2 separate regions of the Homo sapiens genome follow, and region 1 is linked to region 2. Evidence: promoter capture Hi-C in 16 types of primary human blood cells and fetal thymus (Javierre and others, 2016). All regions are on one chromosome and are shown on one strand. Each heading gives the region's core, a stretch centred on a gene start or on the middle of the fragment in contact. The rest is flanking DNA. Distances are from core to core; before and after follow the strand shown.

Evidence for each region. The method cuts DNA at HindIII sites, captures the fragments that hold promoters and counts their contacts. A CHiCAGO score of 5 or more calls a contact.
Region 1: a contact is called between a fragment that was not itself captured here and the fragment with the promoter of PP12613 in region 2, in 4 of 17 cell types (M1 macrophages, M2 macrophages, endothelial precursors and 1 more). The highest score is 8.2, in M1 macrophages.

Annotation. Positions count from the first base shown.
Region 1 is chr4:121,368,864-121,374,142 of GRCh38, forward strand. All of the region lies in intron 1 of QRFPR (pyroglutamylated RFamide peptide receptor), which reads right to left. It also overlaps the pseudogene KIAA1191P1. Among named protein-coding and RNA genes, the nearest start is that of QRFPR, 9.5 kb to the right of the region's middle. The HindIII fragment of the contact is 874 bases long and covers 1,132-2,005 here.
Region 2 is chr4:121,760,919-121,766,005 of GRCh38, forward strand. It overlaps PP12613 (a long non-coding RNA gene), which reads left to right and starts at 3,667. Exons shown (of 1, transcript NR_024365.1): 1 at 3,667-5,087. It overlaps SMIM43 (small integral membrane protein 43), which reads right to left and starts at 4,246. Exons shown (of 6, transcript NM_001384332.1): 1 at 3,899-4,246; 2 at 2,846-2,954; 3 at 1,809-1,880; 4 at 912-974; 5 at 620-777. The coding sequence starts at 4,187. The coding sequence ends at 3,996. RefSeq lists an enhancer at 91-260. The HindIII fragment of the contact is 5,910 bases long and covers 2,857-5,087 here.

The sequences.
Region 1 (5,279 bases), core at 319-2,818, 390 kb before region 2:
AATAGGTAATGAGGTCCCCATACACCACTGCTGAGAATATTTAGTCTAACTTTAAAGCAGTACAAAATGGCTTCTTCCACACAACAGGGGCAAGCTTTGTATCAATATTTCTCAAAAACCAATTGTATCTCCAGCTCTAGCCTCAATTTAACAGGTTTTTTACTTTATTTATTTATTTATTTAGAGACGGAGTCTCACTCTGTCGCCCAGGCTGGAGTGTAATGGCGTGATCTCGGCTCACTGCAACCTCTGCCTCTTGGGTTCAGGCAATTCTCCTGCCTCAGCCTCCCAAGTAGCTGGGACTATAGGCACCCACCACCATGCCCGGCTAATTTTTGTATTTTTAGTAGAGACAGGGTTTCATTGTGTTGGCCAGGCTGGTCTTTAACTCCTGACCTCAGGTGATCCACCTAACTTGGCCTCCCAAAGTGTTGGGATTACAGGCGTGAGCCACTGTGCCCAGCTGATTAAGTTTTTAAATATACCTTTCCTATGTCAAAGCCAAGATAAAAGGGCAGTGGAGTGCAAGAAACCTTCTTTACCAGAATCCCTGGAAAGAAAGGGCTCTAGAAGCCAGTGGGTGTGAGCACATTCAAGTCACGGGGTTTGAGATTATGTGCCCGTGGTGGCTGTTTCCTCCCTTCCGTCACTGGGAAGTCCATCTTGGGTGGCTTCAAGGCTGCTGGATCTTCAGCCATTCGGTTGGCCTGGGCACGGATCAGTTCCATTGGAGAGGGCTTCTGGGCTCCTCGGTAGGCCTGGGTGGCAAAACTTCCAGAATCATACTTCTGAAGGGATCTCAGTCCAAAGAGGCCCCACTTATCTGACAAGTTTCTGTCCTTATCCCCACTTCCAGAGTCCATGGTGCTAGGATTTGGGCCAGGTAAGGCTGTGGAAGAACCAGAAGTGAACCAGCCCCTGGGTCTCTGCTTAGGTGAAAAGTGAGAAGTGGTGCTTGGGGTGGACAGGGCTGATGCAGGTGGCCTCTCTTCTTTTGTTATCTCTCCACTCTGCAGCTTTAGTTTGTGGAGTGCTTCTGCTACTCTAAGGTACTTGGTCTTCTGAGTGGTGACACCCTTGTGGGTGTGTAGCCAGGATCTCTCAGCCCTGCCTGTTGCCCAAAATGCTGAAAGCTTTCCTGGGTCTGTTTTGTGATCACATAATTCATGACGACATGGGTAGCTTTAGCCTTCACCACTGGGAGCTTGTCCACACTGTCAATGGCCGATGACAGGGACTGGCAGGGGAGGGTAGACTGGCCTCTCCTTCCTCCACCTTGGTGAGGTGCTGATACTTGTGCTCTGAAATCACTGGCTTCCAAGGGATGCTGCCCATGTCTGATGGAGGAGGAGTCATGGGTGCAGGGTCCTTGAGGGTATCATCATAGCTGAGTGCCCGGCGGTATATCCTGAAGGGCAGGGACATCTTGCCTAGAGGCCCACTAGCCTCAAGAGCAGGCACTTCTGGTTGTCTTGAAGCCATTGAAAGGCTGAGATCCAGGTGTTTTTTCTATATAGAATCCCTGCCACCACGGTGAAATGATGTGACGACTAAGCTGACAGATGGATGTTAATGAGGAACATGGTCCAGCTGCTGCAAATTAGCAAAACTTCCCAGGAAGAGTCCATCCAGAGGTTCTGCTATCCTGCTGCCGCGGGACTGCCTGTGGCCGGGAGTCCGGCACTAAAAAGATTCCAAGGGCCTACATCCCCAAGAGGCTGTGGCGCATCTGGACCCAAGCCATGGTGAGAGTGGCAGTGACTTCAAAGGTCTCCAGGACTCACTAGGCAACACTACCCGACGTTTACAGATTTTAAATGCATCTCAATCCCACAGGAAATTTTTTTAAAACGTTAACATATTTTCATACATGTATTAAAGGGGACTTTAAAATGAGATTGCATAAATGAAAATATGTAAATACTATATGCTTCATAGAGAAATCAAATGGGAAGTAAGAAGAACTAGATATGCATTATATGCATTAATATTTTTGTGAAAATAAAGCTTGATCTAAAACCTGTATCTTTGTCATATTTTCTGCCACCACATCAACCACTGGGGGGCAGCATCAAACATTATTTTATAACTTCTCTCCTTGGTCTTCTAATAGGGGAAGCTTTAATGCCAGGCCATGTAACTTATAATCTAGTTAATACAAACACTAATAAAGGATGGAACAGGATTAGAACCCAATATTGTTTGATTCCACAATCCATGTTTGTTTTCACAGCATCTAACTGTTTCTCTATCCTTCTATTTCTCCCAGGATGTAGGAACATGCTGTCTTTTAAGATTTCTATTACCCTGAATAGCCTACAATCTCTCTGATATGACAGTAAATGTGTTTCTCCAAAACCAAGCTACAGGTAGGACTAATTTAGTTTTGCAAAGACAGATAAAAACAATAAGCACTTACTTAATTACTTCGGAATTCATCCTTAAGAATCTTTAGTTTTAAGGCATAAAATGAAACAAATAGTATAGCTTCTGCTGAATTTTTCTTAAAGGCACAGACTGAGAGGGAACTGCCAATATCAACTTCTAGAACCCCGTTCACTGACCTTTCAATAATTCCTTAGCAGAGGGAGAAGGCATATGTCCACTACTAGAAGGAATTGGCAGCCTGGAAGTTGGTCCACTGGGGAGTATATATCAATAAATGAGATGGGAGCAGCAGAGGGAGATCCCAGCACTCCATCCCAGACCAGGAAAGGCAGACAAGGAAGAGCCACTCAGAACTCTGGTTCAGCTTGGTCCTGAGAAACCTAGTGCAGGGCTTGGCCTTATGGGAAGACATATGATCGGGGAGCTTTAGTCCCTGTAAGTTGACTCACTCCACTAGACATAAATGGCCAACTCTGCTAAACATATCTACCCTGAGTACCTTCCTATGGAAGAACTTCATGCTAAGCAGTCAAGCCTTTCCAAGGGGCTTAGTGGCTAACAGGGTCCCAAGTGTCACTACTACAGTTGTTAGCTTGTCACACTTCCATTGATTCAGTTAGTAAGGAGACAATGAGCATCAATGGATTCAGGAAGTTTATTACTTGCACAGATGCCAAAGGCAAGATCAACACAGGAAGACACTGAGCCTTGAAGAGCAAGATGACTGACAGTATGGGCAATGGGTTGCCCTGCTGGGGAGGAGCAACCCTTAAACCACGGCCAAGAAATTGTACAGACTTACACAAAAGACTGTAGCTGAACCTTAAGTGGGAGCAAGGTGGGGAGAAAGGAGGGAAGTCTTACACTCAACGGAAACCAAACGGGAGATAGATAAGAGAAGGTCAGTCTCCCACAAGACAGGGATAAGAAACTGCCTCACAGTGGCTCCTCAATAGGCTTTTCTTCCTGCTGTAGGGGGTATCTCTGGGTGTTTGAATAGGAGTGACGATGGCGCTCCCTGAGGTGCGTGATTAGTTCTATGGGTAAGACAGCAAGGCCAAACTGGCTAGAATCCTTCCAGAATTTTCTGCAACTACCGGGAAGTATTCTCTCTCATTTCCTGAGATAAAAAGTTTTATTTTTTGTTCTAGAATTTTTTATTGTGGTAGAATATATCTAACATAAAATTTATGATTTTAGCCATTTTTAAGTGTATGATTCAGTGGCATTAATCACATTCACAGTGTCGTGCAATGAACACCACTATCTGTTTCAAAAACTTTTTCATAACCCCAAACAGAAATCTAAGCATTAAGCAATAACTCCCCACTCTGCCCTCCCCATAGCCCCTGGTAACATTAGTACCTTTTCTGTCTCTATGACTTTGCTTATTCTAAATAGTTCATGTAAGTAGAATCACACAACATTTGTCCTCTTGTGTCTGGCTTATTTAACTGAGCATAATGCTTTCAAAGTTCATCCATGTTGTAGTAAGTATCAGAACTTCATTCCCTTTCATGCCTGAGTGATATTCCACTGTGTGTATACACAGCATATTTTGTATATCCATTTGTCCATCGATGGACACTTGGTTTGAGACAGGGAGTTTTAAAGAAAATGTAAGCTTATAGCTCCTGGGGTCATCTTTCACACTTGGGCAAAAGACAGCTCTAGAATGAAACCACAACACAGAGGGAAGTGGAGCTGGCCGCCGAGGGGGAGGATGATCACTGTTGAAGACCTTAATCCAGTTATGCCTAAAACCAGCCCTAACTCTGACCTTTTCAGTTGCAGAGGTAGAATATTCCCTTTTTTTTCTTAAGGTAATTTAAGTTGGGCTTCTCTTCCCACAAACAAGAATCCTAATAAATCAACAACTTATCAAAGAATAGTTATGTTTTAGAAAAGCAAACTAAAAGGGAATTCATTTTATGCCTCCTAAGTGCACAGTGAAATATTTAAAACTTTCTTACTGCTAAATCCTTGTCATTATTTTAAATGTAAACTGTTCTTGTCCTAAGTAGAGAGAATCTTTTACATAAATGCTGTTGCTGTTACTGCCACTCTCTCACCTACCAAAAAAATTTAGTGACCTACAGCATCTTTTCTTCTCAAAGTGTGCACGTAATTGATTCTAGGAAAGATCAACCAGAGGCTGTCCACAGCATAATTCCTGACTTTATTTCCAAACTACTGTTGCTGTTGGACCTCTGTTTAATTTACATCTTTTTTAATACTTCCTTATTTTAAAAAGACTATTCTTCATCAATAGCTTTTATCATTTCTGTTGACTTTTTAAGCCCCACAATACTGTTGATTTTACACCAATCTTACCATATGTAAATTTCCCCAAGAACTCTAAAATTTCTGAAATATCATAGAAAAAAATTATATAACACATGTAACTGATGTTTTCTAGTCACTGATTGAATAATAAAATGGGACCGAAGAAGTTCCAGGTTAAGCTCTCTGTTCTGAATTGGCCCTCAAAATTAAGATCTTTTCACTAAATGAAGTTCAACAACCTCCTTTAATTCATTTCACAATGTATCAGCTCTCAATCTCTAAAAACACACCCTAACATTTCATGTTGTGTACAGTGAGTGCTTTCTTTCTCTCCCTCCTTTCCTTCCAGTTAAATCCTTTCATTTTTCATATAAAGTCATGCAAAATTCTAATTCTTAAAAAGAGAGACAGGAGCTGTTATAATGAAGCTTGGAGCTTCGCCTACTACCATTCTGTTACCCGCCCACATCCGCTGTGGCCCTGGGCAAAATAGACTGAAAAACCTTTGTGGTGAGGTGTGCTAATTTATAACTAAAGTTCTATTCTCCAGGCAAGAGAATAATTCTTCTTATATTTCTTTGTATGTCTTATATTCCAATCTTTTC
Region 2 (5,087 bases), core at 2,417-4,916:
TTAATCCATCAGAAAGCTTTTTCTGCATGCTTATTAAGTTCTGATTACTGGGTCTGAACGCCCTTCTGATAATCCACCTTCCGGTATGGGAAGATGCTCATGACTCAGATACTTAATCAGATCATTATTAACCCATAACATTATTTATTTTGTGTAGACAAAATAAAAAGTGGAGGACTGAGAAATTTATTTCACTGATTCAAACAAAAAAAAAAAACTACATCAAAGATTTACAACTCAATTCTTAACCTTCTCTTGTATGTGACACAGACATCTGACAGTGACATTCTAATGATCCTAGAGTTTTAATTGTGGATTTAGCTTAAATATGCACGAATATCTCAGAGTAGCTGTAAAAATTAAAAACAAAGTACAGCACTGTGTAGATACCTTATGCATTACATTAGTATCTTTAGTGTTCTAACAGTCTCTAGATTAGTAAGTGTGACTTAGAAAACAACAAACATTTCCCACTATTCTAAATGGTTTAACCATTTACAAACTTTAAAATTTTGGTCATTTAAAATTTAACTCTATTGCACTGATTTTGAAACTATAGACAAAATTGGAAATATAGAATGTCAAACTAAAAATAGAGTATTTCATATTTTTTACTCACCTAGTTCCAAGTTTCCACCCCTGCAAGCGAACCAAAAACAAATCCTGGCACCTTGCCATTCCCAGAAAAGCCAGTGCATGGCACACTCTGGGTAAATTTTCTCTCTTATTCTGTAGAATCGCACCAGATGGCATCAGTTCTGCATCTACAGCTGTGCCCTAAAATTGAAGTTCAGACATAGGAATCTACTTTATTAGACATTTTAGATTTTGCAGGTGTGAGTGTGATGTCATTCTCATTCAACTTAAAATGGTTATCTTGCCAAGTAGAACTGCAGATCCATTGCACTTACAAGTTTGGAAATTAGTGCAACAGCCAAGATTGTCCTGATAAGATCTGAAGCCATTTTGAACACCTGAAATTTAGAAACAATGATGAAATAATAACATTTGAAATAAAATACAAATATTACATAATAGAATTATGGCTCATTTCCTTATAATGTAAGAAATTCAAGTCACCTTCTAACATTGCTGAAGAATCACTAAAAACCTTTTTATTGAAAATAAAACACAGGAATCTTCTATAATCAAGTTACATTTATATAATAAGCAGTTATGTTAAATGTTCTTGACTTTTCAAGTGCTTTAATGTCTAGCTCATATATATACAGTCTTTAAAAATAGATTTGGCACATAGTGATTGTCAGAACAGGGGATCGTCAGGGGATGGAGTAGCCAACATGTAGAAGCCTGCAACCTAGACCATTGTGGGTGTCAGAGTATTTGATCTAAGCCAAAAATGCATAAAGGTGGCCAAAATTGTGAGTTTGAAAGTAGTTCTAATTTGAGAGATCAGTCTATGTCAGGTCTTGGAAAAATGATGATTGAATAAATAAATAAACAGCAAAAGACAGCTCATCTACAGCTGTCAAAGTTTCAAAAGCAGAGTCTCTAACAAAGCAAGTGCAGGGCAGGAGATCAACAGCAGCAAGATCTAAGAGCAAATGTGAGTTACCTTAATTCCCAGAGCTTAGAGTCAAGTTCCAAGCAGAGGTTGAGTAATAGGAATAAATATTCATTGTGGCCTGGATAAATGGGAACTTGGTCATTAATGAATTTGATTACAAGGAGTTAATAAAATGGCCCTGGATACAAGATAGAAAGGCACCCCTGCTTTCTTAGGAACCTGAGTCAGTAGAACCAGCTGAGAGATTGGATTAATACTGAGATGGTAATAAACTACTCACCCTGACTTTTCAATAGTCTCTTGTTTAGGAAGAATGATGGGCAGGTTAAATTCATGGATACCAGTGGTGCTGCTAGGAAGATTAAAGGATTGTAAACTCAAGAAGGCAAGCATGTGGTTAAAATAATTTCCATTCTGGTTATTCTAAAGTGTGAAATGATTGTTTTCAATCCTTACAAACAACTATAATTGCTAATTAATTACTCCCACACTCATCTTCAATGTCCATATTAACCATACAACCTTTTAACTAAATGCCACTGCAGAGATATCAACCAATTAGAGAACTATTGTTCAAAGCACAATACAGAATCACTGCAGTTGATTCAGGGAGTTCAAACTGGGAATTCAAATCAAGTCTTACCATAACTCTGATAAAGAGGTGAGGATTTGCTCATACCATAATAATTAAAGTAAACCTCTTACTTCATTAAGAACAGGCCTATTTGGGGAGAGTGAAATAGAAAGTGGGAAATTATCTAATGTCTTGGGCCAAAATTATTCACCTGAGACTATTTTTCCTTTGAAGCATTAAAATAATTGTCTTACACTTCACTTTTATATTATCAACTTAGGCAAACTTTAGTATTTCATTGTTTTTAGCCTCTCTATATGGTCTTTGTGTCTAAAATTAGTATTTTCAATACTATAGTTATGACTTAGCTTATCCCACACTGACATGACTAAACCCAAATCTTCCCTTACTGAAGATTGAGTATATCTGCATCACATATTTCACCCCATGAACCCCCGCACTGTTTTTCAAAAGGGCCGAATGATTATTAAAAGTGCAAACACTCCTGACATCTCATTCAAATTTCCACAATCCTCTACTAAGACACTGATTCTTGCAATGAGTTAGGAGTCAGTTTGGCTTTGTGGATCTGGTAGAAGCTCACCAGATTTGAGTGGGAGAGTGCCCTTTCCTTCCTTGTACCCATTTCCCCCATCCTGAACCAACATGTTTTTAGGCCCTGGATCTTTAGAAGTTTAGTCATAACTAAGGCCAACGTGAAACCATGCGTCATCCCAACTTACCATTTGCAGAAAGCTTCCATCTCCCGTTGTTCCAGCCTTCTTTTTGCAGGCCCAAACTGTCATTGCAGCTGTGGTCCCCTGAGCACCAGTCAAGGGCAGCAGCTCGGCTCTAGAAAGAGAGATGACATAAATCTAGGGAAAAGCTACTGAAGGATGAAGATATTTCCCAAACTAACATTAGCGAGAGGGTACTTAGGGCATACTGGTACTCGAGTTTGCTCCTGCCCGCCCATCTTCTGCAAAAGCTCTAGTAATTTAACCTGAAACCACAGACCCGCCTCTCCGTCCTTTTTCCTGTTTCCCTACACTATGCAAACAGTACCTCTTTTAGCTGGCCCTCCATGCCATCACCCAAAAGGTCACGTACCGGCCAACCCTAAGGCATCTTCCAAATGACTCTCACTGTAACGTTCACCATCCGCTGTCCCAGATTCGAAACCTACCCTGCACGGCAATCCGCAAGCACTAACCGTGGTTGGTGGCTAGAATATGAGTAAGGATCACCGGGAGGAAGGGATTCCTCCCTCCAAATGGACGACTGAATCTTCTCTCCCCCACGCCCCACCCCAGCACCACCAGACGAACCCCATTTACCATCTCTCAAAGCGCAAAAATATTTAAAGCAATATTTAAAATACTTTAAGTGCGCCCCGTTTCCTCCTGCCACCCGTCCCAAAGCCCACACAGTCTTTCTCAAAAATGTGGATATTCAGGTTAACCTGCGATTTTGTTCGAAAGTGGCTAAACTGCATTATCCGAATAATTTACTTTTCCACTCCTTGGGTATAACTAAAATGCAGTTGGACAGAAAAGAGCTTGCAGTTGTCCAAAGTCATTCCGGCTCCAAAGGGCGAATTCTCTTTTCGCCATCTCTCCCAGCCCTGGAACAGCTTAGGGTCCCTCTCGAAGAGCACAGCGCCAGCCCAGACCCCATACACCCACCGTCCCTGGCACCCGAACGCGCTGCGAGCCCCGGGCCTCCCACAGGAGCGGAGACGCGGGTCCCTGCGCCTCACGCCGGAACGGACCCGTCAGAGCCGCCGAGCCCCGCACCTGGAAGCTGGGAGGCCGCGAGGACGGAGAATCGAGGCGGAGACCCAGCCCAGCGCCCGCGCAGCTCGGTGCCCTCCCGCCAGTGCCCGCACTCGGGTCACACCGCTTGCTCTCGGGAGAAGCCCCAAGGCTCGCGGTGCACCGAGAGGCGCCCGGGCTGGAGCGCCCCGGCCGTGTTGGCCACGGAGTTCTTCAGCTGCTTGATGACCACGAAGAGCAGGAGGAAAAGTAAGAAGAGCAGGAAGAAGAAGAGCGCCAGGTAGAGCAGCAAGTTGAGTTCCCACTCCATGCTGGAGGCGCCGGCGCTCGCTGGCCCTGCGCGCTCGGCGCGGGCTGCAGCTGGAGGGCGAGCGCGCCGCCCGCACACCCACCTCCCGCACTCCCGCCCCTCGCGAGGGCGTCCCGCTATGGGCGCCGACTCCGGGGTCCGTGCTTTGCCTCCCCCGGCTCCGAGGAAACGCGCCAAGGAGCTGAGGAAATCCGGCGCAGACTCTCCCAGCTGGCACCAAAGCCTTCCGCTTCGCCGAGATCCTCTCAGGTGCTCTTGAGGACGCGAGCGACTTCCCTAGGAGCGAACTTCCGCGGGCACGGACGCCAGAAGAGGTAACAGCTCAGTCTTCCAGGGGAGGTCGGGACTGGTGTTTTGTAAATGATTTAAAAGTTCCACCCCCAACATCCAGTAGGGTCCCTAGCTCCGCTGCGTTCCCAATTAATTTATTTCGTTATATCCCTCCGTTCCTGCTTTCCGAAAGGACAGGGGATGTCATGGCCCAGAGACCCAAAAGAATGAAAGGTGGCAGTGAAGATGGGGTCTGAAAGGCTATGAGATGATTTCGTGCTATGAGGTGTCTGAGTGAATTCCAGTTCGAGCTGTCTTGCTCTTCAGAGTAGCAGATACATTCAGTGTTGAGTGTACTTTTCTATGGACAACAGGTCACTTGGAAACGCATTAAGAATACAATGTATTTCAGAAGTTATATAGCACAAAGATTTCAAATATTGGCCTCAAATTCAGTTTATTTGGTGAAAAGAGGAAAACAAGTTTACTCAAAGTGTTTCTTGAGTCCCTAAAGCCTTTCTGTATCTGGTTGACGTGACCCAAAGCCCATATCGCGCAGCTTTAAAAGCTGTTCAGTGTATCTATTACTGCAGAACAAATTACCCCCAAATTTAGTGGCTTCAAACAGCA